7 separate regions of the Homo sapiens genome follow, and regions 2, 3, 4, 5, 6 and 7 are each linked to region 1. The links are contacts of gene promoters, found by promoter capture Hi-C in blood cells and fetal thymus (Javierre and others, 2016). All regions are on one chromosome and are shown on one strand. The core of a region is centred on a gene start or on the middle of the fragment in contact, and the rest is flanking DNA. Distances in the headings are between cores, read along the strand shown.

Region 1 (4,050 bases), core at 264-2,763:
AATGCTGACCTGGCCTGCTGCCATATTGACCAGAATCTTAGGGACAAAAAATGGGCTAACTTTATTGTAACCTTTTGTCTGAAAATTCAAAGCAGTTTCAGAAACAACTTCAAGAGGAATCATTCCCATGCCAATTGCAACACCAGTAGCCACTTGATCAGCTTCTGACTGAGGATGCCAGCCAGAATCCTTCATGGCTAATTCTGCAGCCCCAATGGCCATGATGGTGGGAGAAGACATGGACTTGATATCTGATTTGGACACAAAGTTTTGTTCATTGAACTGACCTTCATCACTACCTCTTGGCACATAAGCAGCAACACTGCAAGGGATACTCTTATACTCTTCACCAACCAGTGAAACAATTCCACTCTCTCCTCCGATAAGACGATCCCAAACCAGGTGAGTTCCAACACCAAGAGGAGTCACTAAGCCAATGCCTGTAATGACAACTCGCCTATGCAATCTGGATATTGGCACAGTTCCGAAAAACTTCCTTTTACTTCTTAACTGTTGGCATAATCTTGAACATAGAAGACGAGTGCTTGTAATTTTCAGGAAATTTTGCAGGCAGTTGGACATGATTAAGATTCAGATGATCAGAAACACATTCCTGTAAAAGACCACAACACACCTAGGAGGTATTCTTTTAAATAGCTTAAGGGCCTAAGGAAAAACATCCAAGGTGTTCCTTTGGGTGCTTGATATGAGCTGCTAATGAACACAGGGAAAATGTTACATACTTTCAATTTATACCTTAACATCAAACTATCTGTTTAAACTTACCTTCTTTTTTAGACCTTAAGTGCCGTCAGACATTTGAAGACAAATAAATGAATTGATGATTCATTCGAGTCACCAAAACAGTAATTCAATGAAAAATATAAAGGCACCTCCAGCCTGATTTGAGCTGCAGGAAGCATCCTTTGTCAGGATTACTGATAACTTCTTCTAAATAGCATTTCTGGTGTCAGTGGCACAGAAAACACATTTCAGGGCATATTCTTTTAAGTAAGTAAGTGGGCTTTATCAATCTTCAGTACTTAAGGATAACCAGCCTTTTCAAAACGCTACCCAGGGCCAAGAGCCCTAGACTGAGCGTCTGGATACATGGGTTGGCAATACACTCTGTGACCAAGCTTGCGATGGGGGAAGGGGACAAGTCTTTCCACTCCTCTAAACTTCTCCAATTGAATCATTGGTGGAAGGAGGGGTTACGACTAGTGGATCACTTCAAGGGTACTACGAAGGCCAGGGGCGGGAGTAAAAGAGTGTAGCCATTCCCTGTATCGCCTCTCAGGCACCACCACACATGTACACAGCCCGAAGAAGCATGGCGAGAGAAAAAGAAATCAGGCCCCAGGTCCTCGGACTCCCCTCTCGAAATTCAACCCCGACTTGATTTGAATGTAAAGGAGGAAAGGAGGGGCGAAGGAGGAGGGTAGCCAGCGATACCTGTAACGGGGCTACCCCGGACACTTCTCCACAGTCGGGGGCGATGACGCTCTCGAGCGCACGCGCACACGCACGTACGCTCATGCGCGCTCGCACGTACGCTCATGCGCTTTCCCACGCACGCGTCCCGTTCGACTCTCTTTCCGCCGGTTGACTTTAAGCCGCGTCACCTTGGCTGAGGTCAGACCGTGGGAGGCGGCTGGGTAGCTGTTTGCGTGAGCAGAGACGCCCCTCTCGGAACCTCAGTGACTCGCCGATAATCGAGGACCTGCCAATAACGCGATGAGGTAGCATTTTCACCCATCAAAAAGGCATTTTTCTTTGGCAGTGATAATGCCCAAATATTCCCTTTTGTCGGAGAAGGGACACCATCGTATTCTACTGGAATTGTAAGAAAGAATTAAGGAAATTCTCTGCAGTTTCAAAGTTATTGCTATAGCTCGCAACGTTATTAGTAATTGTGAGTAAAGTGGAATTAACCAAAATGGCCAACATCAGGAAATTTGTTGTGTATCTTGTGGTACATCCAAATGCCATGCAGCCGTTTAAAATAATTCTGCAGGTGAATATTTATTAATGAGATGTTGCGACTATTTGTTAGGAGACATAGTTACAAAACAGTATATATCCGTTTTTTCAAAAATAATTCTTTAAAGGTCTGCAAGATGTATACTGATTGTGATCTTTCCCTCCTTATTTTTGCTTAGCTTTATTTAATAAAGCTTTTCTACAATAAACAAATGTTTTTGTAATAAAGTTTTTACTTTTTAAAAGTTGTCACCAGGCTGTTCTGCCTATGGAGTAGTCATTCTTTGTTCCTTTACTTTCCTAATAAACTTCCTTTCACTTAAAAAAAAATTATCACCAGATTTGAGACAGTGCTCAAAAATTGTCTCCATTGTCACAATGGAGACATTTGTTTCTAAGTGTGAAAAATTCATTAACTGTTTGCTTAGAGCTGACTGCAAACCGATAAAGGGAAAATATAACATGAAAATGTAAAAAAGCAAGAAGTCGACAAGATGGTATTCATCGAACATCTGTTTTTCACATGCTATCCCAGGCGTGAGTTTTGTCCTTGCTCTTCTTTAGAAAAATGGTTGAGCATAGAATCTTCATCTGGACCTTCTAGTCATATTTATGGTTTTTTCTGGGCAATGCCTCTTGAAGCCATTGTTTCCAAGTAGAGTGCTCTGCATTCTTTCCTACCCCTACAGAAGAATGTGAGTCAAGCTTAGCTTTCCAGGTTGGTCCTGGATTTAAATGAGTTTGGAAATCTATTTTGTTTAAAATAATTCAGCAAAGCTCAGTTTGACCTTCGTCCCAGGCCTAACCAGTCACCTCTAGTTGATCCTCATTCAGTGACAAAGTAGAGTTTCTTGAAGAATTAAAACAAACACATGTGGTTATAAAGTAACACTTGATGAGTAAGTACCTAAACTTGATCTCTTTTCATTGCTGTCTTTAAAATAATAGTGTGAAAATACCTACAATATTTTCTCTGAAGCTGAACTCATAAGAAACATACAGTTTTAATGTGCTATTTCTTTTGTAATATCACAAAATCGTCTTGGCTAAGAGGTGACAAAATCTTTCAGAAAAATAAAAAGACCATCATTTTTGTATCTACCTCTTATCACCTTTTCTTTGATCTGGAAAAGGGTGGGAAATTTTATGATATTTAATGGCTTTACATATTTGGTACCATATTTCCTGCTACAATTCCATCGTGTCTTCTTGCACCAAAATCTTCAAATGGGCTCTGCTTATCCTACCCTCCTATTAAGACTTCCTAGGTTTGCCTTAAATTCTTTGTAATCTGATTCAAAACTATCTTTCCAATTATGGCTCCCATTCTCTATTAAATGAGCTTGCCACCCAGCAAACTGATTTTCTCACTATACATGTCTTGATTGACCCTAACTTTTCTCATCTCTGTGCTTTTGCTATTTTCAACAACCACTCATTTTCTTCCTATCAATGCTTGAAGTTTGAATGCAAAAATGAGTAGAGGTATGGCTCTTGCTTTCAAGAAGTTTATGGTCTAGTAAAGGGAGACACCCATAGAAACAAGTAAGTGCAAACTGTTGAAACAGGTGCTATAGTGGAATTATTATAACACAAAAGGGACAATGAGGTCTGTGCTACCTCGTAAAGTCAGAAAAGGCTTCAGAGAAATGATCCTTGAACTGCATCTTGGAAATGAATGTTTGTCTAGTAAATTGGGTGGGAAAGGGCATCCTGGCAGGAGGAGAACAAAGGCCTGGAGAAATGAAGTGTCATGGTATCTTCCACAAACAGCTAAATATGTGGCCCATGTCAAATTTGAAGTGTGGGACAAAGCAACAGTAAACGCATGAGAGTAAGGCAGGGCCCAGATCACAAAAGCCTGGGGTATCATACTGAGGACTTTGGATTTAATCCCGTAGTTCAGAGACCATATGCTAGCCTTCATGGTATAATTTGGAGTGCAACATTCTTTTATTGATTCTAAACTCCTCTAGAAAGGACATGGTAAACTCTCTCATTCCCTTCACTGGAGTCTCTCTTACTCCTCTTTGTCTTGAACAAAGCCACTTAAAATATTTAACTTAC
Region 2 (4,050 bases), core at 782-3,281, 2.0 Mb after region 1:
CAGCCTCTTAGAAATGTTAAATCGAGAGATCTAAAAAACAGCTGGCTGTGAGCAAGTTAGGATTTTCAAAGTTTAAAACACAAAAAAACTTCCCTGGGAAGTTTGTCAATCACAAGGTGGGCAAGTATGGAAAATGTTGGTGAAAATATTTAGGCTTCTTAACAGGCTAATTCTCCTCTGTAAGATTTGCTCATTTATTCTTGGAAGCAATACACCTATCATAATCAGCACTTTTTGTTTGAAAAGGCCATTCTCAGAAACATCTGTGAGTTATTCAGGTTCTTACGTCTAATCTAGAAGAGAGACTTAAGACTGGATAATTTGAGGAAACATTTGCTCTCTTCTTAGGGTTCTTAATTTTTACTATATTGAGGGGTTGAGAGCCACAACTTTTTTTGAAAACAGTTTTTTTCTCGTAATTATAAAAAGTTAAGATTTCTATTCAGAAACCCTCAAATAATAAAAAAAAAAGCCAGTACCCCCAATTTCTCGATCACTCCTTGGTACCAGTGTATCTGTGACTAGTATAGAAAGATAGATGAGGATTCTTTCTAACACTGAGATTTATGTTCCAGTGCTGAGAGTTCACTTGGTTCCAGTTGTGTCTTAGCTTAAAATAAATCTTTGGGGTGGTGGGTTGGTCTATGAGGTATATATTTAAGATGTTATTTTTGGAAACTGCTAGAGAATAAAATGAAAACTTGTGATTTTTCTCAAACTTGGCTTGAAAGTAAAATAAAGATTTTATGAACTGGGAGGTGAATACATTTACTCTCCCCAAACTTTCTCACTTGTAAATGAGTGGCTTAGTGCAGATCCTAGAGTTGGGAATTCAAATCCTATAGATTTTTCTTAGCTCTGTCTCTGCTTGTGAATCAATCTTTACCCAGACTATTAACTATGCTCTGATTTTTTTTAAAGTACTTACAGTTCCAATGTGTTTATATTATAAACCCATATTATTAATTTTATCCTATCATTTATTTATTGCACATCTAAGTGCTACACAGGCCCCCAAACTAGAGAATTTAGGTTTGACCCTTTGTAGGAATGGCTAAAGAGGTTTTCCTTAGGAGTATAAGGTGGGGTGTTTTCTCCCCCTTAAATGTAGGATTTTTGTGTCCTCTCCTCATGAAATGTACATGAACTCCTAATTGTGTAAGATGTGGAAGGCAGAGCTGTGTTGTGTGTCACCATCACCAAATGGACATTTGGATATGGCACTGTGCTGGGTCATGTCCTGAACAACTTTGACACATAACTTCTGCTTTCTAAAATGGTTCTTTTAAATTTTGTTTACTTTTTATTATCAAAAATTTTCAAATCATTTTTTTGCTAAATCATTTTAATGTAAATTATAGATATCAAGATAATTTACCCAGCCAGGCACAGTGGCTCATGCCTGTAATCCCAGCCCTTTGGGAGGCCGAGGTGGGCGGATCACCTGAAGTCAGGAGTTTGAGACCAGCCTGGCCAACATGGTGAAACCCCATCTCTACTAAATACACAAAAATGAGCCAGGTGTGGTGGCATGAGCCTGTAATCCCAGCTACTCAGGAGGATGAGGCAGGAGAATTGCTTGAACCTGTGAGGCGGAGGTTGCGGTGAGCCGAGATTGTGTCACTGCACTCCAGTTGGGCAACAGAGCGAGACTGTGTCTCAAAAAAAAAAAAGATAATTTACCCTTAAATTCTTCAACATGATTTTTCAAAAGCTAGACACACTATTATCACATTTGACAAAACTAGCAATAGGTCCCTGGTATTGTATAAATATTCTGTCCATATTTAATTCTCTAATTTTCTTTTAGGTTCAAATCACTATTCTACTAAAGATCATGAACACTGCTTTTGTTTGTTTTGTCTCTCACTCTGTCGCCCAGGCTGGAATGCAGCAGCACAAACATGGCTCATTGCAGCCTCGATCTCCCAGGCTCAAGTGATCCTTCCACCTCAGCCTCCCAAATAGCTGGGACTACCCACGTGAGCCACCATACCCAGCTAATTTTTGTATTTTTTATAGAGATGGGATCTTGCCATGTTGCCCAGGCTGGTCTTGAACTCCTGGCCTCAAGCAATCCACCTGCCTCAGCGTTCCAAAATGCTGGAATTACAGGCATGAGCCACTACACTGGGCCTGTTATGTTTCTTTTAATTTAGAACAAACCCCAATTATTCCACCTCTTTTGCCTTTCTTTTATTTGTAGCATTGACTTGTTGAAAAGATGTATGGCTAGTTTGTATTGCAGAATGTCCCACATTCTGGATTAGCTTGATTGTTTTTCTACACGCTACCATTTAACATGACCCCTCTATCTCTTTTTTTTTTCTAGTTTTTTTCTTTTTTTTCTGCAACCTTCTCTTTTGAGGAACTCTATCTCTTCTATGTCTTATAATTTAGGGTTTCATAGTAAGGCGTGATTCGATGCCAGTTACACATTTTTGGCAAGATAGTCAAGTCATAGCATAAGTGACACTGTGTATGTCCCATTGTATCACATCAGGAAGTGATGACTGCTTGCCACTTAAAAACCGTCTCTTGAGAAGGAGCAATATCTACCATTTCTCATTTGTCTTACCACCACTGGAGCTGAAGCTGGAACTGTGAACATCATTTAGCCTCTTTTATCAGTTTTCTATGAGAGACAAAACTAATACTAGTCTCTCTAACTTCACAAGGTATGATAAAAACCACAGGAGACGATGACAGCAACATCATAATAACACCACCACCAATACCTATCATTTATTGAGCAATCACTATGTCAAGCCCTGTGCAAGAGCTTGCCACTCACTATTTCAGCTAATCCCCACAATAACCATGAGAGATGAGTACTATTATCACCTCCATTGTATAGGTGAGGATACTGAGCCACAGAGAGTTCAAGCAACTTGGCCAAGGTCAAACAGCTGGTAAGAGGGGGAGGTGGGATGGAAAGCCAGCCAGCCTGGCTGCAGAGACTCCGTAGGAAATCGTATGTATCATACAAAAGTAAAGCAATGACCCAGAAGTACCAGTTGTTGTATTAGAGGATGGAGAAGACATTTTTATTTTGTTTTTCTCTGTTTTTCAGACTTCCATTGCTGCTACTGTATTACTTTAATAACCGTAAAACAAATAGGTACTTAAAGTGAGACATGCAATATGAATATAAAGTAACAATCAGAATCATTTATTAAGTACCTGCTCTAGTGGTACTGACAACAGAATAAAAGGAATCACATCAACAATAATAAAAAAAAAACTTTGCCTAGAGGCAAATAGACATAGGAACTAACACCATAAACAGTTATTCTATGCTTTCTTCTTTACAATTCTACTCCTTTTGTCCTGTTTGACATATGGCTCACTTCATAAAAATGTTTAAATATTGATTTCCAAATAGCTTTAGTTGGTCCTAAAACAATATTAAGGGACCATGTGGTTCTGGAAGGATCCATTCTGCTGTTTCTGTTTTTAAAAAAAAGTCCTTTTTTTTTTAAAGGATTTTTTTTAATCTTGGTTTTTGAATCAAGATGGTTGGTCAATTATACCCAAACAAAGTGACCATGCAATTTCTTTATTTTAATTTTATTATTTATTTATTTAATTTATTATTATTATTTTTTGAGATGGTGTCTGCTCTGTCACCCAGGCTGGGGTGCAGTGGCACGATCTCAGCTCACTGCAGCCTATGACTCCTGGGTTCAAGCCATTCTCCTGCCTCAGCCTCCCTAGTAGCTGGGACAACGGGTGCACGCCACCATGCCCCACTAATTTTTGTATTTTTAGTAGAGACAGGGTTTCACCATGTTGGCCAGGCTGGTCTCAAACTCCTAACCTCAGGTGATCTACCCACCTTGGACTCCCAAAGTGTTGGGATTACAGGTGTGAGCCACCAGGTCCGGCCACAGTTTCTTTTTTAAAGGTTATGTTTACGGTATCTAAAGAGACACTGCCCAATGTGCCCTCTGTGTTAACCTCTTAGATGAGCATCGGTCTTCTCCAAGGTGTGAAATCATACTTGGCAAACAGTATCTGAGCCCCTAGAAACCTCAGCCAAAGCCATCA
Region 3 (4,050 bases), core at 456-2,955, 2.0 Mb after region 1:
AAAGGATGACTTCTGCTGAACCTATTTCTTATACCCAAACAACCATTTAAAACATGCTGAACCTGGACGAGGTATGTAACACTCCACTGTTGCAAGAAAAGGATCTCTTTCCATTGTGAACCATGATGAGCAGCCTGGGACTTCTGAACTGACATCTCATTACCATTACCACCAATTCGAGGAGGTATTGGAATGCCAGAAAAACACAATGTAAATTCACAGAAACTACGTGGAAGTATACAAAGTGCTAACTTGGAGCATCTGTGTGCAAGGAGCAGGATCAGAAGAGGTCATCAGGACTATCTTTTGCCTTTTACTCCACAAACTTCTGTATTTGAATTTTTCAAAAACATGCATTCTTGTATAATATAATGGCTTAAAACTATTTAAAATATAGGCAGTGTTAGGGAAAAAAAAGCTATCAAAAGAAGGCTAAATGGAAATTCTGTCACATACAGAAAAACTAGTATCAGGGCCAGGCACCATGGCTCACGCCTGTAATCCCAGCACTCTGGAAGGGCAAAGTGGGTGGACGGCTTGAGGCCAGGAGTTTAAGATCAGCCTGGCCAATAGGTAAAACCTGGTCTCTACAAAAAAATACAAAAAATTAACCGAGTGTAGTGTCGAACGCCTGTAGTTCCTGCTACTTGGGGGCCTGAAGCAGGAGGACAGCTTAAGCCCAGGAGGTCAAGGCTGCAGTGAGCACCACTGCACTCCAGCCTGGGTGACAAAATGAGACCCTGTCTCAAAAAAAAAGTGAGAAAGAAAGAAATGTATTTTTATTATTCTCACCCATGCTTGAAGTGTTTAATGACTTTTCAGACATTTTATCCTAAAATAGCACCCCATCTGAATTTCTAGGTTAAGTCACTGAGACATTTACTCATGAAACAAATATATCCATTAAATAAAATCTGAAGTTTAAAGGACTTAGGCAAAATATGCCATTTAGTCTGTATAGACATACTGTCTACAGATATTCGTGTCTACAGGCTAGTTATAACTAGTCAATTTAGCAAAGTTTGAGCCCTGGGCTATAAATAACAGCTGCAAAACTGACTCTGGTGGCCCAGAGTTCATCAGCTATCTAAAAGGCATAATTTTACAATCTAAGATCTGGCACGCTTTAGGGAATCATTACAAAGTTAACATATTTTTTTCCCTAAAAGAATAGAGCTAAATGATATGGGAATAAAAGCCTAACCAAAATGAAGAGTGAGTTGGGAAACTATTTTGTGTGTGTGTGTATGCATATATATACACACACACACAAATCACAGATACTAAAATTAAGAATTTGATTTCTATGGCAACATAAAGCAGTTTGAAAATACTTACTTAAAATGACTTTGGACCAGGTCATTGAACACAATCTGTACTGTGTTCTAAAAAATATCCACCCAACATAATATACAACATTAAGAATTTAATTTTATGTTTTCATACATTATAACATATTGAGCAATTGCATTTCACATAAGTTTTGATGCTCAGTAACTTCAAATATTTTTGCCAAGTGCCAAAATTAGTGAACACAAACAGTGCACCTTCCTTCAAGAGGAGCAATTCTACTGATTTGCAATAATCAACTTTTTTTTTTGAGACAGGGTCTCACTCTGTCGCCCAGGCTGGAGTGCATCACCATGCCCGGCTAATTTTTGTATTTACTGAGAAGTTACTATGTGCCAAGTGCCATATTTTAATAACGTGTTTAAAACTACACACTGAATGCTGACTGAAGAAAGGAAGTATGGCAAAGGGTAAAAATATAAGACAGACTAATTGAAAACCAATTATTTAACTCATTCAAATCTCATGCTTTCATGCTGAGGGTAATTTTAAACATGTACGCACTTAATATATCACTTAATTCATAGATTTTCATTGGACGCTGACTTCAAAAAGTATCCCCAAGGCCAGGTGCAGTGGCTCACGCCCGTAACCCCAGCACTTTGGGAGGCCAAGGCGGGCAGATCACAAGGTCAGGAGTTCAAGACCTGCCTGGCCAACATGGTGAAACCCCATCTCTACCCAAAATACAAAAATTAGCTGGGCATGGTGGCACGTGCCTATAATCCCAGCTACTCAGGAGGCAGGAGAATTGCTTGAACCAGGACCCGGGAGGTGGAGGTTGCAATGAGCCGAAATCATGCCACTGCACTCCAGCCTGGGCTACAGAGCAAGACTCCGTCTCAAAAAGAAAATAAATAAATAAATAAATAAATAATCCATCTTTATCTCCAATAAAGTACATTAAAATACTAAATAATTAAATTCCAAAAGGTAACAGCACAAAACGTAAAACCGAACTCTTTTAAGAGAGCTGAATATTGGGACTACTATATAACATTAAGACAGCACCATTAGCCAACCAAAAGTAAAAATTTTAATTCACATTACTCAAACGGCCCCACTGGAAAATATCTTCAGAAAATAAAGTCATCTTTATTGTTAAAAGACAATGTAATATACATTCTCTTGCAAAATGAAGATGCCTCGTATTTTCTCTCAAATCAGAGATTTTTCTTAAAATTTAGTATTTTGAGCTTTGACTCCGTAACACCAATCACCCAACAGCCACCCAGTTTGGTGCATCCCCTGACCACAGGTAATTCCCAAACGTTTCACCTTGAAGGGGTAATTGGGAGGGTTTCCCAAAGATAAAAAAGTTCCACATGCCTCAGGAGCATAAATCTTTCACACATAAACTCAGTTAAAACGATGTGAAACTGAAGTGTACTTACACTGTTTTTTTTTTTTAAATGCTTAATCCCATGAAAATCTTCAAATGGTTTACAATTTTAGATTTGACTGTGCTTATTCACAAGAAAGCCATTATATGTTTTAATCAATGTTATTAATAACACACACATAGGAGACACACAATACCAAGCAGGAGCAATAACTAGACAGCACAGAACCACCTTGGGGAATGTACATGGATTCCACACAAACAACCAAGGGAAGCTACAGGCTTCCACGTGAACCACCACCATCAAAATAATGAGTTAGGCCTAAGTCTTATGGTTTTTCCACTTCTCAACCATCTTGAGAGATTATTAGCCAGGAAAGAATTCCCCAGAATGATTAAGTGTTCCAATTATAAACTATAGTTTAAGAGCATTTCAAACTCAAAATGACTTTCCTTACAAAACAGGACAAAGTTTCACGGAAGAGCATCCCACACCTAATCAACATTAAGAATGAATGTAACCAAAACGGCAATAGTTTTGTATTTAATCCACTAATTAGTTTCCAAAGTTCACTGTTACTAAACAAAATACTTCATTTAGCTTTTCAACCTATTCCCACACACTCATCTTAAAAATTGTGTATAGCCGCTGAATACTTTGTCAGTAACTTCTACTCCTACCAATAAGTTTAGAGTATTTCTGAAATCTCACATCCCTTTCCAACGCCGATCTTGAGAACTAGGTTAAATGTTATACTTAATTTTTAAAGTATGGGAGTTACAGGACCTCCCTTAAATAAATGGTTCTATTCTAATACATAGTTGTAAGTTACCCTCACTTCATTGTTGATCTAGTAAAGTCATCAAGTCTTCCACCTTGACTCAACAGTAGCAAAATGGCTTCTCTAAATAAAGCTGTGATCAACAAACCCTTAGAAAGCTGGTTTCAATTTGTTTTGAAACTGAAACACACATATGTATACAGTCTGAATAAAGCAAGTGAAAAAAACACCCCATGAAAGTTTAACTCTACAATTTAAAAGAAAACCTTTATCAAAGCCAGAAATTGTTTCCTGAATTGCTCTGCCAAAAGTCTAATAAAAAATCTATATGCTATGGAGTAAGTTTGAAGATCCAGTGTTTAACTCTAATGTTCTCTTAGCTTAGCAGAGATTGAATAAGAGATTACTGTAGCAAAGCAGTTTTCCAAACCAAAATGTCCTTCGCATCTGAAAGGTTTTACATCATCTTTAATGGCATATCAAAGACCCATGATTAGGCAAGGAGACACCTTTAAATTTACTTTAGTTTTGTTTCATATATGTAAAAATCCACTCCAAATAAATCCATTACTTCTT
Region 4 (4,050 bases), core at 635-3,134, 2.0 Mb after region 1:
CGCAGTGGCAAGATCTTGGCTCACTGTAACCTTCGCCTCCCGGCTTCAAGCGATTCTCTCTCAGCTCACTGCAACCTCTACCCACTGAGTTCAAGCGATTCTCTCTCGGCTGACTGCAACCTCCACCTCCCGGGTTCAAGCGATTCTCCTGCCTCAGCCTCCTGAGTAGCTGGGATTACAGGTGCCCACCACCACGCCTGGCTAATTTTTGTACTTTTAGTAGAGATGGGGTTTTGCCATGGTGACCAGGCTGGTCTCAAACTCCCGAGCTCAGGTGATCTGCCCACCTCGGCCTCCCAAAGTGCTGGGATTACAGGCGTGAGCCACTGCGCCCAGCCCCCCACACCTCTATATTTTTCTTTACAGGTCTCCTCCCTCCAGGAAAAACACAGTCCCTTCTCCTTTATTAAAAATGTATATTCTCTTCCAACAGGTCAACTATTTGTGTCCAAGCCATTCCCTGGACAATGATCAGAAACTGAATTCTGTTTTTATTTCCCTTTCAGGAAAATCATTCATTTGCTCCTTCATTCATTCACAGCAAAAGTTTGAGCAGTTACTGTTTTCTAAACCCTGTGCTAGATGGCTGACATGATCCATATGCTCACAGAGCTTAAAGTATTGAACAAACTCAAAAAGCCAATTATTAAAGCTAAATAAATGACTAAGTTTTCTTCCTTTAGAAAAAAGTATTTGGCTGGGCATGGTAGCTCATGTCTGTAACCTCAGCACTTTGGGAGGCGGAGGCGGAGGCAGGCGAATCACCTGAGCTCAGTCAGGCATTCAAGACCAGTCTGGCCAACATGGTGAAACCCTGCCTCTACAAAAAATACAAAAATTATCCAGGCATAGTGGCGGGCACCTGTAATTCCAGCATTTGGGAGGCTGAGGCAGGAGAATGGCTTGAACCTGGAAGGCAGAGGTTGCACTGAGCTGAGATCGCACCACTGCATTCCAGCCTGGGCAACAGAGTGAGACTCTGTCTCACAGAAAAAAAAAAAAAGAAATACAAAACTTAGCTGGGTGTGGTAGCACGTGCCTGTAGTCCTAGCTACTTAGGAGGCTAAGGTGGGAGGGGATCACCTGAGCCTGGGACATCAAGGCTGCAGTGAGCTGTGATCACACCACTGCACTCCAGCCTGGGCAACAGAGTGGGACCATGTCTCGAAAAAAAAAAAAAAAGTATTCATTTTGTTAAATATTTTGTCAAACTAGCTCCCAATATTAGTGTCATCTGGACCCTTTCACTTTAATTACCAAAATAGCTGACTGATCCAAAACTCAATCAAGTTAGACTAACTGGTCCCTCGCCCAAGAGTTTTACAACTGGCCAAAAGTAAGTTTCTCTCTGGGTGCCTGTGGTCATGTTCTTCAGGCAGGCTGTGGGCAGCCAGGAGCAATCTGCGATGTGAGAAAAAATAAAGCGCACTTGGAGTGAGAGCATAGATGAGAGTTGGAGAGAATTCCTGGTTTCTGTTGTTTCTGATATCCAGAACATTTCAGTTCCTGGGTTATCAGACACACACTCAAATATCCCTATAATATTATCTTTTTATTTAAATGAATTAATTAGACTGCTGTTACCTGCAACATAAAGAGTCTTAGCTAATAACAAAAGTGGTATCAGAATGACTAATTCTCTCCAAAGTACAGTGGTTGAGTATCGGCCCTGAAGCCAGATCACGTGGGTTCTTCTGGCTTCTCCACTTACTAAGCTGCACATAACCTTAATGTTGATTTCATAATCTGTAAAATGGGATTACATGACCACCAACAGGAATGGTTTAAGTTTTAAATGAGTTTCTAATGTTCAAAGTCCTTAGAACAAAACTTGACCCACAGTTAAGACCGCAACAGAAGTTAGCTATCACCACCACCTCCAAGGGGGATCTAAATTCTACGATATACTGATTTGCTGATGTTTCAATGAGACCACTCATCTGGCTTGACACATTCCCTACTGTACACATGATACACAGAGAGCATTGACAAGGCCACTCTTAAACAGGGACAGTTTCCACATCCAGGTGAATCAAGAAGAGTAATAAGGTAAGGAAGAGAGAAAAAGCAGTGGCTGGATTCTCCACAGCTCCAAGCATCACACTGTTCTCTCATAAGGAGCTTCTACACAACCAAAACCCCAAACCTGCCCCCACCCCAATATTGAGTCACACTGCTCTTCCTTTGATGCTGTTGGTTCTATAAGCCTGAAGATTTTTATGCATTTTTGGATCCAACAGATGACTTCAGCTTGCCAAAAACAAACAAAAACAAAAACAAAAAAATGAACCCACTCCCGACTGGTATAACTCTTAAAATCCTTTATTATTTGTGATTTTTATTTTTGTGTGTGATGGGGGTAGGGCAAGAGATGAAGGCTGCTGACCTTTGTGAACCCTAAATCTATTTATAATACATATTGACTAAGACTCCCTCTATCCACTCCATGCTCTTGTCAGGGGATATTATAAAGGGCTCAGAATAAATTAAACACCATCCTGAAAGGCTACTTAACTAGAAGCAAGCATGGCCCAGAGATCAAGCACATGCATGTAAGAATTAGAGGAGCCTAAAGAACCAGGAAGTAGTTAAAAAGAAAAAAGGAAAAATAATATATGCATGATTTTTCCAAAGATATTTTCTTGACAAAGTATCTTTTAAATTATTCTAGAACCAAAATTCCAGGTGTAGCTAGCTAGGTAATAAGAAGGAGTGGAGGGAAGGGGGAGGAAGGGAAACATGTGGCATACCCATATCCTGACAATGCCAGGGTTTCTCTACAGAAATTCCGAAATAGCAGCAAACTCCTCAAGAACCCAGGCCAACAGAGCCAATCAATCCATGCTTATCAACTCACAAATTTGCTGAAGGCTTTCTCCTTTTATCTGCTTCTCTTTCAGACATCTCTTATTTATAGAAAGTAGTGAGCTAAGCCTGAGGGGAAAACCAAAGTCCCCATTTCTAACCGCTCTTCTAGACCCCTTTCCTTTCTCAGTTCCTCTTTCCTTTCTCCTTCTCTTATTAGCTCGACCTCAACCTTTTCCTTGGACTCCCTAAATCTGTAAACTTTCCCACTTCAGCACTTTTCCAGGAGAGGGGCAGGTATGGGGGCTCAGGCTACTGGTAAACCCCGTGCTTTGGGAGGTTGAGGCAGAAGGACTGCTTGAGACCAGGAGTTTGAGACTAGCCCAGGCAACACAGCAAGACCCCACCTCTCCAAAAAAATTTAGAAAACAGCTGGGTCTGGGTGTGGTGATTCACACCTGTAATCCCAGCACTTTGGGAGGCTGAGGCAGGAGGATCATCTGAGCTTAGGAGTTCCAGACCAGCCTGGGCAACATAGTGAGATCCTGTCTCTATTAAAAAAAAAAAAAAAGCTGGACTTTGTGGAGTGCACCTGTTGTCCCAGCTACTTAGGAGGCTGAGGTGGGAGGATCGCTTGACCCCAGGAGTTCAAGGCTGCAGTGAGCTATGATCACACCATTGCATTCCAGCCTAGGCAACAAAGCGAGGCCCTCTCTTTTTTTTTTTTTTTTGAGGCCCTGTCTCAAAATAATAATAATAATAATCCTCCATCTTATCAAAAATAAGAACTTATTTTCAAGAATCAAAGAAAAAAATAAAAAATACAAGACGGAGAAACTGCCCCTTCTGCAACTGCCACCCCCCTCTAGCTACAGCTTGTCAGAACCACTGGAGGGCTTTTATTTTTCACCCCAAATTTGCTAATCTCTCCTTCCATCCACCCTGTCCACTGAAAGTAAACCCCTGTTACTTATTGATGGACATTTTCCCTCTTCCTTAGGTGTGCTGGGACAGGCACAAGCCTGGAAATCACCAGACTAGAGTGTGAGACAAATCTGAGGAAAACACTGAAATCACATAAGGTTTAGATGAAATTGAACTATGATAAAAATTATAAACAAATTTACATCTTAGGTCATTAACGAACCTTTATATAATGTCTTGTTCAGTAGCTATGTAACGTTTATTTTATATTGAAAGCATCTATCACACTTTTGTATCTCCAGATGATCTAATTCAGTGCTA
Region 5 (4,050 bases), core at 1,062-3,561, 1.9 Mb before region 1:
TGAGAGACTTCCCAGGGATGCAGTGAACTGTGACTAGATGCTCTGCATCACATATTTCCTTCTACTTGTCAAATGTCCTCTTTTTCCCTCCCCCACTGCCAATCCCAGAGCATCAGCAGACTCAGGGCTGGTCGCGGGGTGTTCCCACACGCCTTCTCCTGACTGCCACCTCCCTATTGCTGTCTCAGCTCAAATGTCAACTCTCCATAAAGAGCCTCCACCAACCCATAAGTTTGCTGCATATTGGAACCACCTGGGGATCATTAAGTAATCCTGATGCCTTGTCTCACCGCCAGAAATTCTGATTTAATTGTTCCGTGGTGCTACCTGGGCATTAGGATTTTTAAGAACTCTCCAGATTATTCTAATATGCAGCCAAGATTGGGAACCACCGCATTACCCCGTTTGACTGATACCTCGATATTCTGATACTCTCTTATTTGCTGACTTGATGTTGTCCGGATCCAACATCATCCACTTTTGTACCCCAGCACCTCGTGCAATGTCTGACACACATACTAGGTCAACAAGTGTTTTCTAATATTGTGGAATCAACTGAATTTTACAGTGCGACTTCTGAGAAATGTAAGGAACTTCAGCATCTTCCAAGAGTTGCCACTGGGGCCGAGGAGAATTCAGGAAGTGTTTCAGATGGGGTCGCTCCCTGGACCTTAGGTAACAAGCAATTCCTGGCCCACACCTGCCCAACCCTCTTCAGGCCCCAGCTGGCAAGCAGAGCGGGATGTTAATGGGGCTGACGGTTCCCTCTAGGTCCTCCGCTTTGATCTGACCTAAGGCAGCACTGGGACCATCTAGCAGATCGCTCCCTGGCCCAAGAGCTTCTGATCACAGGGCAGGGTATCAGTGCTTGTTTACCTGCTTTGGGGGTCTCAGAGGACAAACAATGAAGGAGTCTCAGTGAAAGGGAAACTCTCACAGCGGGGTTCCGCACACGCAGCGCAAGGGGACGCTGCGTCTTCTGCGGCGCAAATCTTTCGACCCTCTGCGCTCTGCCGGGGGGTGCGGGACAGCCGGCTGCTGACCGGGGAAAGGACTGCAGCTTGTGGGCGCAAGCAGCTGCAAGGAAAGGCCTCAAAGCATCAATATAATTTTTAAGCTATTTCCCGCCAGTTGTGAGCCCGGGATGTCAAGCTAGCAAAAACTCCGACGTCTCCAAGGAACTAACTTAAAGATATATTATAAGTGAAAAAAGCAAGGTGGTTAATAAAGTGTATAAAAGCGTGCAGATGGGTGGGGGACAGATAAAGAGAAATTCAGGTGCGCTTACGTACTTGCTGGTGCAAACATAACATTATAGCCCCAGAAATACACAGGAGAAACTAATAGTGATTGCCTTCACTTCGAGGAATTGGGAGGCGCAAGAGTTGGTAATCTGGTGGCTTTTGGGTTGCTGGGTATTTTTTTTTTAACTCATGCAAGTACGTTAAGTATATATTGATTTTATATTATATAATATATACTACATATAATGTATTGTTGATATATTCATACATGTATGTAAGTGTTATCAGTTGTTGCAGTCAAGATGTCTAAATTAACCTCTGCCCTGGACGATGACCTAAGGGTACGGAGAAACAGAGAAGACTCTCGGCGTCAAGGACCAAAGAGGGAGGGTGAGAGGAAATATGTGGGATCCCCTACCCCCGTATCTTTTCCCAGAAGCCAATCTGGAATGGATGTGTATTTGTAGGGGGCGGTGATAAGATAAACTGGGGCGCTCGAATACCTGAGTGCCATCCAGACTGCATTTGGAGATCTAAGCCGCCAAAGGCTGGGAGGTGGGGAGGAGGACAAAGGAGGGGGTGGGATTGCGAAACCATCGCCCTTATCCTTCTCTGCGTCGTAAGCGCCAGGAACCCAGCCCCTAAGGGAGCCTTCCCTGACTGCAGCGCCTGACGCCTGGGTTTGAGCCCCTACGTGGACTTTTTTTTTTCTTTTTCCCGGGCTGCGCGTACCAGGGCGTGGGTGGGAGCGATAGTGCATCACCGGGGGAGCATTCGCCACTCGCTCAGAGCCCTAAAAGACTCCTCTGAGGCGGAGTTGGCTGTCGTGCTGGCAAGTGCGCAGTCCCAGAGAGGAGTGTTTCGGGATTAGGGTGTCCGCCGAGGTCCCGCGCTCAGAGGAGGGAGAGACCAGAGGAGCCTTCTCGCTTCCCAGCCCTTGCTCAATTGGAAGGCTTCAAACGTCTAGGGGGAGGCGAGAAGCGCTCCTAAAGTCCAAAAACCCTAGCTTTAGAGCGCGCTTTCATGCAGGAGGCAGGGGCACCGCAAACCCCAGCGAGGAGTAGGAGAAAAGGAAATTTATCTGGAAGGGGATGAGGGAGAGAACTGGCTGTTGCTTTGCCGCGCCTCTCTCTTCGGGACCGAGGGATCAGTTTTCTGTTAAAAGTTTCAGAGTTCCAGGCAGAAGGTACCGCCTTCTCCATCTTCTAGGTCCTCCTGGACTTAAGGTTCACAAGTTGTGTAACCTCAGGCAAGTTATTTTATCTCTCTGAGCCTGGATTTTCTTAACTGTAAAGCGAAGATGCTGAAAGCACCTACCTTCAAGAGGTGGGAGTGAGAGCCTAAATGGGATGATGTATGCCAAGGGCTTGGCCCAGCCCCAGCACTTAGAGAGTGGACAACCCATGTCATGATTATGCCAAGCAAGGATGACCGATTCTACCGCAAAGTTGGGATTTGCAACCGAGTCATGGAGCCCGGTTTTCTCCAGAGACTCATTCTGAAGGTCCACCGGCTGTAGATGGGTACTGAATGCCGTTCACTGGCTTGCTCCGAAGACTCACAGGGTCCCCGTTCCATAGCCTACATCTGTCCCCCCCAAAGAAAACAATGACCCAGCCCTGCCACCATTCACACGTACTTAATCCCCCCACTAGGAGCCCCGCAGCCCAGACCGCTCGAATTCACATCCCCAGGCTACCATTTTCAGCTGGGTGCTTTGAGCCAGGGTCTTCGCCTCTCTAAGCATCACTTTACTCTTCTGTAAAATGGGATTATAACAGTTTAGGGTGCTTTTTCTTTTAAAAGATTATACAAGTAAAGCAGAGCAAAGTCAGCTGCTGCTTTTCTTATTCTCCTCTTTTGTGAATTTGCAGATAAACTCTGTTCTTGAAAAGTCAGCCCTAAGTGGTGGAAAAATGATCCTAGCTGCTCTTTGTTGCCCCTTGGATACGCCTTTACTATGGCTCCTTGATATTCTGTGGGGGGAGGGAGTTCCAGGGACCGTCCCGGCCCCTACCGAGTGATTAAGCAGCCCAGGCCGGCTTGGCCTTCGGGGCCTCCTCCGGACTTCCCTCGACAGCCGCTCTCTGCGGTAGATCTTGCTCTGCACTTGCTCTGTCCCCTTAATTTGCAGATGCCGCCACTGAGGCCCGCAGGGACCCACAGCGAGTGGATCCAGATGGCCTCTTTTTCTGGACATCCAGTTAAGGGTGCCTTCTCCTGGAGCGAGAACCCTGCGGGAGGCTTCCGACTACTCACTTAACTCCTTCGTGGTCAGGCGTTTAACCAAGTAGGTGGAGAACAAAAGCTGAGCTAAATACCCTATTTTCTTTCTTTGACAAGTAATCGGCCGGAACGGCAAAATCCCAGCGGGTGGCGGGAGATACTGGAGGCCTTGGGAAAAACAGAATGCTAATGGCCGCCTGGAGGGGGCGGAAGGCACAGCCTGGTTAGGGCGCCCCAGCCGCCTCGCTTTGAAGTGCACCTCTCCAGCCGAGCTCACCGGGAGGGCACTTGATTTCCCCTTTCGGGGAAATAAAGAAGAGCTGCTAGAGTAACTGGGGACTCTCTTTGGTTCTGACTGACTCCCTCCTGCTTCCTACCCCTGGTTCACGTTGCTTTTGACCTGTTTGCTCCTGGCCTCCCCCATCGGACTGGGAATCCCCGGGAGGAAAAAGACTAAGGTTTATTCATCCTCATTTAGCTCCAGTATCTTAGTAAGAACGGTAAAAAGTAAGCTCAGTCTAAGTGTAATGGCGAGTAGTAGGAAAGACTTCCTATGTAGGTGCCAGGTACTGTTCTAATT
Region 6 (4,050 bases), core at 1,129-3,628, 1.9 Mb after region 1:
CTAAATATGCATTATTTTTAGCTTGTTTTAGAAGCAGATACCTATCGATTTCAGAAGAATCTGCGAATGGCAACCAAAAGGCAAAAGAAAAGTAAATGAACACAGCAGTGTTTATTAGGTGGTTTTTAATATTGTTTATTAGCACAGTAACAAATGCAGACTTAAGTAGTCCACAACATAGAACCAATCCACTGAGCAACTCCTATTCCACGCCTTACAGTTAGTTAACAGCTTAAGGTATTTCACTACAGGTTTTCACAAGTCCTGATTCAGACCTTTTTTAAACAAAGTAGATTGGCATATAAAATAAAACGCACTACTCATCTCTTATATGGTGTTTTATAGCCACGTGTCCATTTTATATATATGAGATGACAATCTCTAAAAACTCTGTTAAATATCAATGTTCCCTTCCAAGAAGGGAAAACAAATTCCAATTTTGTTTTAAACAAAAAGTATGTAGTCTTAGAGGGACTTTACATAAATGGCCATATGTGTAACCTGTACCAAATTAAGCTGTTTTAAATTTACAGACTACAAGCAACTGAACCCAAATGTCTAAATGTACATTCTTTTCTGTACTACATTTCAGCTAATATTGCAGAACTAATGACAATTTTAAAAGTTGCTATTACCAATTCTGTCTACTGTAGCAAGATACCTTAAGTTACAACAAAATCTTAGGAAATAAGACTGAATAATATCTGTTATAGAAATACCCTACTCTTTACCAACTCCCACCCTCCCTGACCCCTTCAAAATCATAAGCAGCTCTCTTCTGTGACAGACAAATAATGTAAGAATTGTGAAACCCCAATTTATGTAGCGTATCTCTTGGTCCACTGTCTGGCCATTCTGTCATGTTCTGCTCTGTTGGTCATATACTGAGTGGCAATACTTCCCACCAAGGGGTCGGCTGGAAGAAAAGAATGTAGATTACTTTGGAGAAAGGAAAAGAACATTTTAAACTTTAGCGAATAGTGACAGCTTGGGTAGATACGTACGACAAAGTATGTGTGATCAAACCCATCTTCGAAACACCACTCCACCATGCTGGATATTTTTCCATCAAAATTTCAAAAAAACATAACGTTGGGGGAAGAGGGAATGCTTAGGCTTTAGTGTACTGGTCTGTCTTTATCTTAGTTCATTCCATTTTTCTCCCAACAAACAACACTCAATTGGAGTTTCTTTACTCTTATGTGTTAGGCTGAGTTCAGTAGAGACTGGAACGGTCAAGGCTTCAGACTGCAATGAACATCCAGCTGTGTTCATGTGACCCTTAGCTCAATGTCACCAGTTAACGGCATTGTGAATACTGTGAAGTCTTCGGGGCTGTTGCAGTGCAACACTATTAACCTTTACGCTGGTTAAAGAGCCAGGTTGCCAGGCAAAACCTGGACCTCCAATTAAGTATAGTATTTCTCTGAATCTTAGGATCTTTAATAAATTTATATTTGGTTTACCTAGAAAATATATTTGTCTGTGTGTGTGTATATATATACATATGTGTATATATATATATTTTTTGAGACAGGGTCTCGCTTTGCCACCCAGGCTGGAATGCAGTGCAGTGACATGCTCATGGCTCACTGCAGCTTTGACCTTCTGGGTTCAAACAATCCTGACACCTCAGCCACCCTAGTAGCTGTGACTACAGAAAAATATTTTTTAAATGAAATGAAGTCCCAAAAAAGTCACAATTCAATAGTCACTAAGTATTTAACAACTACCATTTTCAAAATTGAGTGCCATCTCAGTGACCAGCTATGGGACACATGCTCACTGAACCCCAGAGGCACAGGTGAGGCTTGCCAGGCAGATGACTCGACATTTAGAAGTGTCTGATTTGTTTTATAAGAACTCTATGGGAAATTAAGCAACAGGAAAAAAAAAGGAGGAAGAATAATTGAAACTAAAAGCCCAAGGCAAACTTACGTCAGTCTTCAGTTTAAAATACCTTGTTGCTAGAATATACTGATTAATGAAGTTGTGTGTCTCAACTAGTAGACTGAACTTGATTAAAACTTTCTTTTGAAAAGCCGATTAGTTTTTGTATTCACAAACTTGTGCAGAAAAATTAGTTTTGTCCTTTGAAAGCTTTTGGAAACAAGTATTTTTCAGGTAAGGAAGAATAAAACAAGGTAAAGAATTATGAACCTTACCAGGATTACAGTCTGTAAGAAGTGAGCAGATAGAAAGGAGGACTTTAGAAATGGTTAGTGCTGGACTCCAATTATCTTTCAATATGTCCAAGCAAATAACACCTTGACTGTTAATATTACAATGATAGATTCTTGTCCGAAATGTAACCTAAAAAAAACAAGTGACAGACAATATTTAAACAGCAAACAAACTTGTTACTAAATATTCAACTGAATGACCCTTAAGAAGGTGACTAAAAGCAGTTTTAATTAAAGCTGTCAAGAAGATAGACAATAAATTTGATTAGAAAGTGTTCATTGATACCATCTCAGGGACTGTGTCAATTTCATTTAAAATGTTATGTCCACTGACGGTAAGTTCAGTACTTCCTAATTTCATCTTTAGCAATTTTAAATCTTTTAAATATTAACATTTCCAAGTTTGAATAGCTAATTGTTTGCTGACCTCTTGTGTTAGCTGGTAGTACTACACTGCCTCAAAGTAAGCTTTAAAATACTGAGAATCATAAATACCTCTTAAAAACTGAAGTGCAACATAATGGGTACATAAAGATAATTAAACAACATACTTAGCAAACAATGACTACACCCAAAAGGCTGAACAAAATTTGAAGAGAAGTCTATTTCTGCTTTTTTCTGACCGTTACATCAGGTCCTATAGACATCCTGTCTACCTACATCACAGAATTTACTATTATATAATCGAGTGTCCATGGATGCAGAGCCAGTAATGGGCAAGGACCACAGCAGAACACAAGTCACATAAGCTGGTGTTATTTGGGTCTCTTAATTTTTATTTGTGAAATATACCAAAACACAAAGTAAAAATTACCTGTAATTTTACCAATTTTTTAAAAAAGTGACTTTCGATTACTTCTTGTTGCTGCAGTTGTACTTTTATCTGGCAGTCTACCTAATCCCCAAGACGGGGTTTTCTTTCTGACTGAATGAGAATCATAGATTGAGTACAGGAGATGGGTGACTTGGGCAATCCTCACCTGTCCTAGAAAGAAAACTGAGGCCTGGAGGTAAAGGAACAAGACCAAAACATGACAGGGAGCACAACAGAATCCAAAGCTTTGGGAAGAGATTCTGATTCTCTAGTTGTTTGGCCCCCTGACCTGCCCTGCCTTTTTTTGGGGTCTTGCTTTGTTGCCCAGACTGGACTCAAACTCTTGGGCTCAAACAATCCTCCCAAGTAGCTGGACTACAGGTGCACACCACTGCACCTGGCTTGACACCATTTTTAACCTCGAGAAAGGTTCAAAAACATTTCTCTATGGGCTGGAAAACAGGGGATTAATTCTAGGTTGCTGACAATATTACTATAAATAGCACAATTTTAAGCACCATCAAAACAAAGCACTTAATCCTAGAATGGTCTCTGCCAGATAAGGCAAAATCAACCTAAAGAAGTGTTTTGTATATGTTAAAATACTCAGATCTATTAGGACATAAGATAAATCTAGTTTCTGTGATTAAAAATTAAATTTAGAAAAACCTCAACAGTTGCTCTCTTGTGGGAATTAGTAAATTTGAGCATACAGGGAGATTTCTTACCTTTGGAGGCTTGAAGGGATATTCTGGTGTAAAAGTGATATCGAGAAAGAATACACCACCCTCATACACGGATCCTGGAGGCCCTAGAATGGTTGATCTCCATTCATAGATGTTATCGCCTTTGGGACCAGCACTGTGAATAATACGTCAACAAATAAGCAGATGGTGGCACTATCCCAATTTTTACAGTGTATTAAAAGAGATGGAAAGATTACCTCTCTCCTCTCTTTTGTTTACTGTGTGGATTCTCTTTACAAAACAAGTACAGAAACGGATGCAGAACTGCAACAAACCCATAGCCATTGGTCAAGCAAACTGGATGATA
Region 7 (4,050 bases), core at 85-2,584, 1.9 Mb after region 1:
AATAGAAAAAAATAAAACACATCCCAGTCTTTTTCAATGCACCTTAGGCTACTCACACAGGGAGGCACACTGTTTATTTTGCTTTAGTCTGAACTCATTCAGATTTGTAACCTTTGACACACTTGCCACTTTAGACAACAGTGCATACAGTAACTGACCAGTGTTGCTAGCTTTTTTCTGCCAAAGCCCTATGCGAAGAAAGACACTGAGGCAGCAGTGTCTTCCTAACAGCTGGTTTCCAACTTTTCTCGAATATAATTTTATCCAAGCATCCACGCAGTCGATCACGTACCTTGCTTGGCCTTGTAGCCCAGTCGGCGCGCTTTATCAGGCCGGGTGGGGCGGGGAGCCCTGTGGAGAGCAGAGAGCTGGCGGTACTGCCAGCAGCGGACCCTCAGAAGAAAGCGCATGACATCAGACTGCTTCTTTCTCCATAGCTCCTGGATGTACTTGTATGCACCCATCTTGGCTTACCTGTGAAATCAAACTGTGTATTAAATATCATCCGCTTTAAGTACAATAAGACGACTGTATCCGTCCATCTTAGTTCCCCAACAAAAACAAGGAAACCGCCGGGAATGAAAATGGCTCTGCACCAACTGCCGGGGACAGCTAGCCCAACCCCCACCACTGCGCCCACGGAGCCGCGTTCAGTCACTTCCGCAACCCCAGCACAGAGCGGTGCTCGGCACGTTTTGGTGGGGCGAATTAACAGAACCAGAACTGAGCACCAAGGGGGCGGGTGGCTGCGGCAGGCGGCGTCCCCAAGGAGGACCTGAAAGGAGATGCCGCTGACATCACAGGACAAGGTACTGCTGCGGCCACCGAGGATTAACTCTCGAGGAAAATGCATCTACCCCACCCAACCAGCAGCCTCACTTTAGGCTGCCTTGTCCCGGGCGCCCCATTCGTCAGCCCCACGCCTCCTCCAGGATCCGGGCCCAGCTCGAATTCGCGCCGCCATCACATCTTCGCTCAACCCGCCCCGGGGGCCGCCTCTCCACCCCTTTGCTGTCCCGCATCCTGACCAAACTCTGGCCGCACAGGAGGGAGACCTATCTCCGAGGACGCAGGGTCCCCGGACCTGGATGGCTGAAGAGGAAGACGATCAAAGGCGGATGGAAGAGCAAAGATCCTCAACGCAGCCTACCTGATGGCTGCCGCCAGACGGAAAGGAAAGAGCTGTACTCCCACAATGCCTTTTGGGCTCCTCCCCCACCTCAGCCACCCTCTTTCCGGTGGAAAGCTGCGGCCTCCCAGAGCGTCATGGGACATGTAGTTCCGGCATCGCGCCTGGTGGCGGAGTTCTGCCGAGTGGGGCGCCGCGGCCGCTATTGTCCCGCCCCCTGCTCCGCAAGATTCGAGCCTGAGCGGCCTGGGCGTCTCGAGAGGTGAGAGAGTTGGCGGCGAGGTCTCGGCGGCTAAGCGAGCGTCGGCGACTGTCTCTCCGCGAGAGGAGGCAAGTTGGGGTCCAGGCTCCAAAGCCGGTGGCCGCGTACCGCGGTGGAGCCGCTGTCTTTGAGGTCTGAGGAGAGAACAGGTTTGTTTCACGCACCGCGGGCTCTCCCCCTGCGGAGTCTCTGCGTCTCCGCGTCTCCGCGCTGCGCTGTCCCTCTCTGGCCACCGCACGACGGGCGCAGAAATCTGGGCCCCAGAGCTGCGCTGAGAGATCCCCCGACGCTTCCCCAGCCTCCCAGGGAGGCCTTCGCGGAGTCGGGGCGTCGCGGGTCGGGGCGCTCGCTGTGTCCCTTCAGCTCCAGACTGCGTGAAGCTCCTCCAGCAGGCCCCAGCGCCCAGGGATTTTGTCCTAAAAAAGGGTCATGGAGTGGGTGGATTGCGGGCGGCCCGGCGCTTTTTCTGCATACGGATTTCGTCCCAAATTTGCTAACATGAGAACCACAGTTTTTCAGAAGAGCAGAATGTTTATTTGCCAAGACCTGTTTGGCAGGTGTGAATGTTTTAGAGAAGAAATGCCGAGAAAATGCTGGCATTTTGCGTTGCGGGTTTTTTTTTAAATTGAGAAATAGGTTACTGGCTTACTTTGTTTCTCCAGAATATTTTCACTTGGCTTTAATTTAAGTCATGTGGCTTTAATTTCCTTCCAGATTATGCGTTCAGATGTGGCAAAGGCTTAAGAGAATCATTATCTCTTAATCGTAGCGGTTTTGATTATCTTTTTTCCCACATCATATTTTTCTTTCTTTCTTTTTAAATCACAGCTTTACGTTTTTAAGAGTCTCTATCTGGTTCATTGATTGATTCAACAAATATTTATTAAGTGTCTAATATGTGCCAGGCATAGTTGCTGGGGATGCAGCAGGAAACAACGCAGAATTTTTGGCCTTCTTGGAAATGGGCAGTAAGCAGAAGTAAGCTGTGTTTTGGGTTTGGTGGTAAATGCTAAGGAAAAAAGATAAGGGGAGGGAAGTGATGAGGGAGTGTTAGCGGCTGAGGGTTGCAATTTGGAATGGAGTGTCCAGGTTAAGTCTTTGAGAGAAGGTAACATTTAAGAAAGGACTTCAAGGATAGGAGTCTGGGAGTAAGAGTAGGGGTCTGATTCAGGCAGAGGGAGAAGAGCCATGACTGGAGCATGCAAGATTAATAGAGGAACAGCAGGGAAGCAGTGTGGCTGAAATTCACAGTAGGGGAAAGTGGGAAATGACGTCGGAGAGGTGAAGGTTCTCACATGGACTTTGGATTTCATTGGCAGATTTTGAACAGAAGGATGACTTCATATGGCGTACATTTTAAAAAGATAACTCGGATTGCTCCTTTTGAGGCTAAAAGGAGAGAAAAAATGGAAGCAGAGAGACTGCTTAGGAAATTGTGTTAGTCTTCCATTGCTCCTGTAACAAATTTCAGCAACTTTGTTGGTTAATAATACAAATTTACCGTCTTTTAGTTTGTACATCAGACTAGGTCTGTAAATCTGTAAATATCACCAAGCTAAAACCAAAGTCAGTAGGGCTGTGTTCCTTCTGGAGGTACTAGGGGAGAGTACATTTATTTCCTTGGCTTTTCCACCTTATGAAGCCTGCCTGAATTCCTTGGCTCCTGACTGCTTCCTTCATCTTCACAGCCAGCAAAGGAGCATCTTCCAATTACACCTTCTGTCCTCTCCAGCACTCCTGTGTGTCTCTTATAAAGACACTTGTGATTACACTGGGCCCACCTAGATAATTCAGGATAATATCTTCGTATGGAAGTTCTTAATTTAATCACCCCCGCAAAATTCTTGTATGAGTATGTAAAGTAAACATATTCACAGGTTTGGGGGATTACGATATCTTTGAGAGACCAGGTGAGAGAACATGGTGCCTCACCCAGACCACTTCAGTAGTGATGAAAATGGTAAGTAGTGCAGCCCTGTATGTATTTCAAAGGTGAGGATGACTAAAAAGTTGAATGTGCTACTGTAGGTACGCTGCCTATGGGCGTAGTCCTGCTCCTAAAGGAGCAGTAAAAATAAAATTTAAAAAGTTGGATGAATCATTTGGAAAAACAATTCTAGTAGTGTGAATAATCACTGCTAATTTATCAATCACATTTGCAGTTTTGTTTCTCAATTTGTAGTTTCTCAGTTAACAGTTTTACAAGATTTGGATTTGTGTTTCCAGTTGATTTTGAGATTCCTGAGGACAAGGGATGATTTCTGTTTTTGCCCCCTAGTTTGTCCCTGATGGCTGGCATGATGGCAGGCCCTCAGTAAATGTTTGGTAAATGAATAAAAGAATGGTAAGCTAGAATCTGCTTTATTACATTTTATTTTGTGCAATACTGTGTGCAAAACCTGTTGAATATATTTTTATGTATGTAAATATATTCATATATGGATAAGTGAAAGTATTCCACACTATACATAATGTTGACATAAGTAAATACACAGTGTAGGTGGTTTCCCCACATGACAGTATTTTTAGAGATTTATAACATCTCTCCTATGATGTTAACAGTGTTTTGGTATTGTTTTTCTGGTTGCGTCAGAAAGTTGTGTTTTACTTATAAAAATAGAATGGCCCACTTACATAGAAGAACAGAAGCAATAACGGT

What was found. Contacts are between HindIII fragments. The CHiCAGO score rates a contact against its expected background, and 5 or more counts as called.
Region 2: a contact is called between a fragment that was not itself captured here and the fragment with the promoter of OXSM in region 1, in 1 of 17 cell types (non-activated CD4 T cells). The highest score is 8.2, in non-activated CD4 T cells.
Region 3: a contact is called between a fragment that was not itself captured here and the fragment with the promoter of OXSM in region 1, in 5 of 17 cell types (activated CD4 T cells, naive CD8 T cells, total CD4 T cells and 2 more). The highest score is 19.3, in activated CD4 T cells.
Region 4: a fragment that was not itself captured here is called in contact with the fragment with the promoter of OXSM in region 1 in 5 of 17 cell types (total B cells, total CD4 T cells, non-activated CD4 T cells and 2 more); the score reaches 10.4 in total B cells.
Region 5: a fragment that was not itself captured here is called in contact with the fragment with the promoter of OXSM in region 1 in 3 of 17 cell types (naive CD8 T cells, naive B cells and activated CD4 T cells); the score reaches 11.7 in naive CD8 T cells.
Region 6: a fragment that was not itself captured here is called in contact with the fragment with the promoter of OXSM in region 1 in 9 of 17 cell types (total CD4 T cells, naive CD4 T cells, activated CD4 T cells and 6 more); the score reaches 13.4 in total CD4 T cells.
Region 7: the fragment with the promoter of NKIRAS1 here is called in contact with the fragment with the promoter of OXSM in region 1 in 8 of 17 cell types (non-activated CD4 T cells, naive CD8 T cells, total CD4 T cells and 5 more); the score reaches 23.1 in non-activated CD4 T cells.

Annotation. Positions count from the first base shown.
Region 1 is chr3:25,787,553-25,791,602 of GRCh38, reverse strand. OXSM (3-oxoacyl-ACP synthase, mitochondrial) reads right to left here and starts at 1,513. Exons shown (of 3, transcript NM_017897.3): 1 at 1,456-1,513; 2 at 1-613. The coding sequence starts at 582. It also overlaps a transcript of NGLY1 not described here. RefSeq lists enhancers at 1,216-1,285, 1,296-1,365, 1,505-2,034 and a silencer at 1,468-1,687. The HindIII fragment of the contact is 1,038 bases long and covers 1,142-2,179 here.
Region 2 is chr3:23,792,435-23,796,484 of GRCh38, reverse strand. No RefSeq gene overlaps it. Among named protein-coding and RNA genes, the nearest start is that of UBE2E1, 11 kb to the left of the region's middle. The HindIII fragment of the contact is 4,856 bases long and covers 1-4,050 here.
Region 3 is chr3:23,811,705-23,815,754 of GRCh38, reverse strand. The region is part of intron 3 of UBE2E1 (ubiquitin conjugating enzyme E2 E1); the gene reads right to left. Among named protein-coding and RNA genes, the nearest start is that of UBE2E1-AS1, 6.8 kb to the right of the region's middle. The HindIII fragment of the contact is 7,557 bases long and covers 1-4,050 here.
Region 4 is chr3:23,828,651-23,832,700 of GRCh38, reverse strand. The region is part of intron 3 of UBE2E1 (ubiquitin conjugating enzyme E2 E1); the gene reads right to left. Among named protein-coding and RNA genes, the nearest start is that of UBE2E1-AS1, 24 kb to the right of the region's middle. RefSeq lists enhancers at 1,163-1,212, 1,733-1,942, 2,862-3,291. The HindIII fragment of the contact is 6,760 bases long and covers 1-4,050 here.
Region 5 is chr3:27,728,234-27,732,283 of GRCh38, reverse strand. No RefSeq gene overlaps it. Among named protein-coding and RNA genes, the nearest start is that of EOMES, 7.9 kb to the right of the region's middle. RefSeq lists enhancers at 1,267-2,198, 2,199-3,128, 3,129-4,050. The HindIII fragment of the contact is 4,662 bases long and covers 1-4,050 here.
Region 6 is chr3:23,887,375-23,891,424 of GRCh38, reverse strand. UBE2E1 (ubiquitin conjugating enzyme E2 E1) reads right to left here. Exons shown (of 6, transcript NM_003341.5): 4 at 3,726-3,858; 5 at 2,166-2,313; 6 at 1-916. The coding sequence ends at 819. It overlaps NKIRAS1 (NFKB inhibitor interacting Ras like 1), which reads left to right. Exons shown (of 5, transcript NM_020345.4): 5 at 1-1,474. Among named protein-coding and RNA genes, the nearest start is that of NKIRAS1, 28 kb to the left of the region's middle. The HindIII fragment of the contact is 551 bases long and covers 2,103-2,653 here.
Region 7 is chr3:23,914,274-23,918,323 of GRCh38, reverse strand. It overlaps NKIRAS1 (NFKB inhibitor interacting Ras like 1), which reads left to right and starts at 1,334. Exons shown (of 5, transcript NM_020345.4): 1 at 1,334-1,540. It overlaps RPL15 (ribosomal protein L15), which reads right to left and starts at 1,192. Exons shown (of 4, transcript NM_002948.5): 1 at 1,151-1,192; 2 at 293-474. The coding sequence starts at 464. RefSeq lists enhancers at 451-550, 480-1,679, 931-1,730. The HindIII fragment of the contact is 19,179 bases long and covers 1-4,050 here.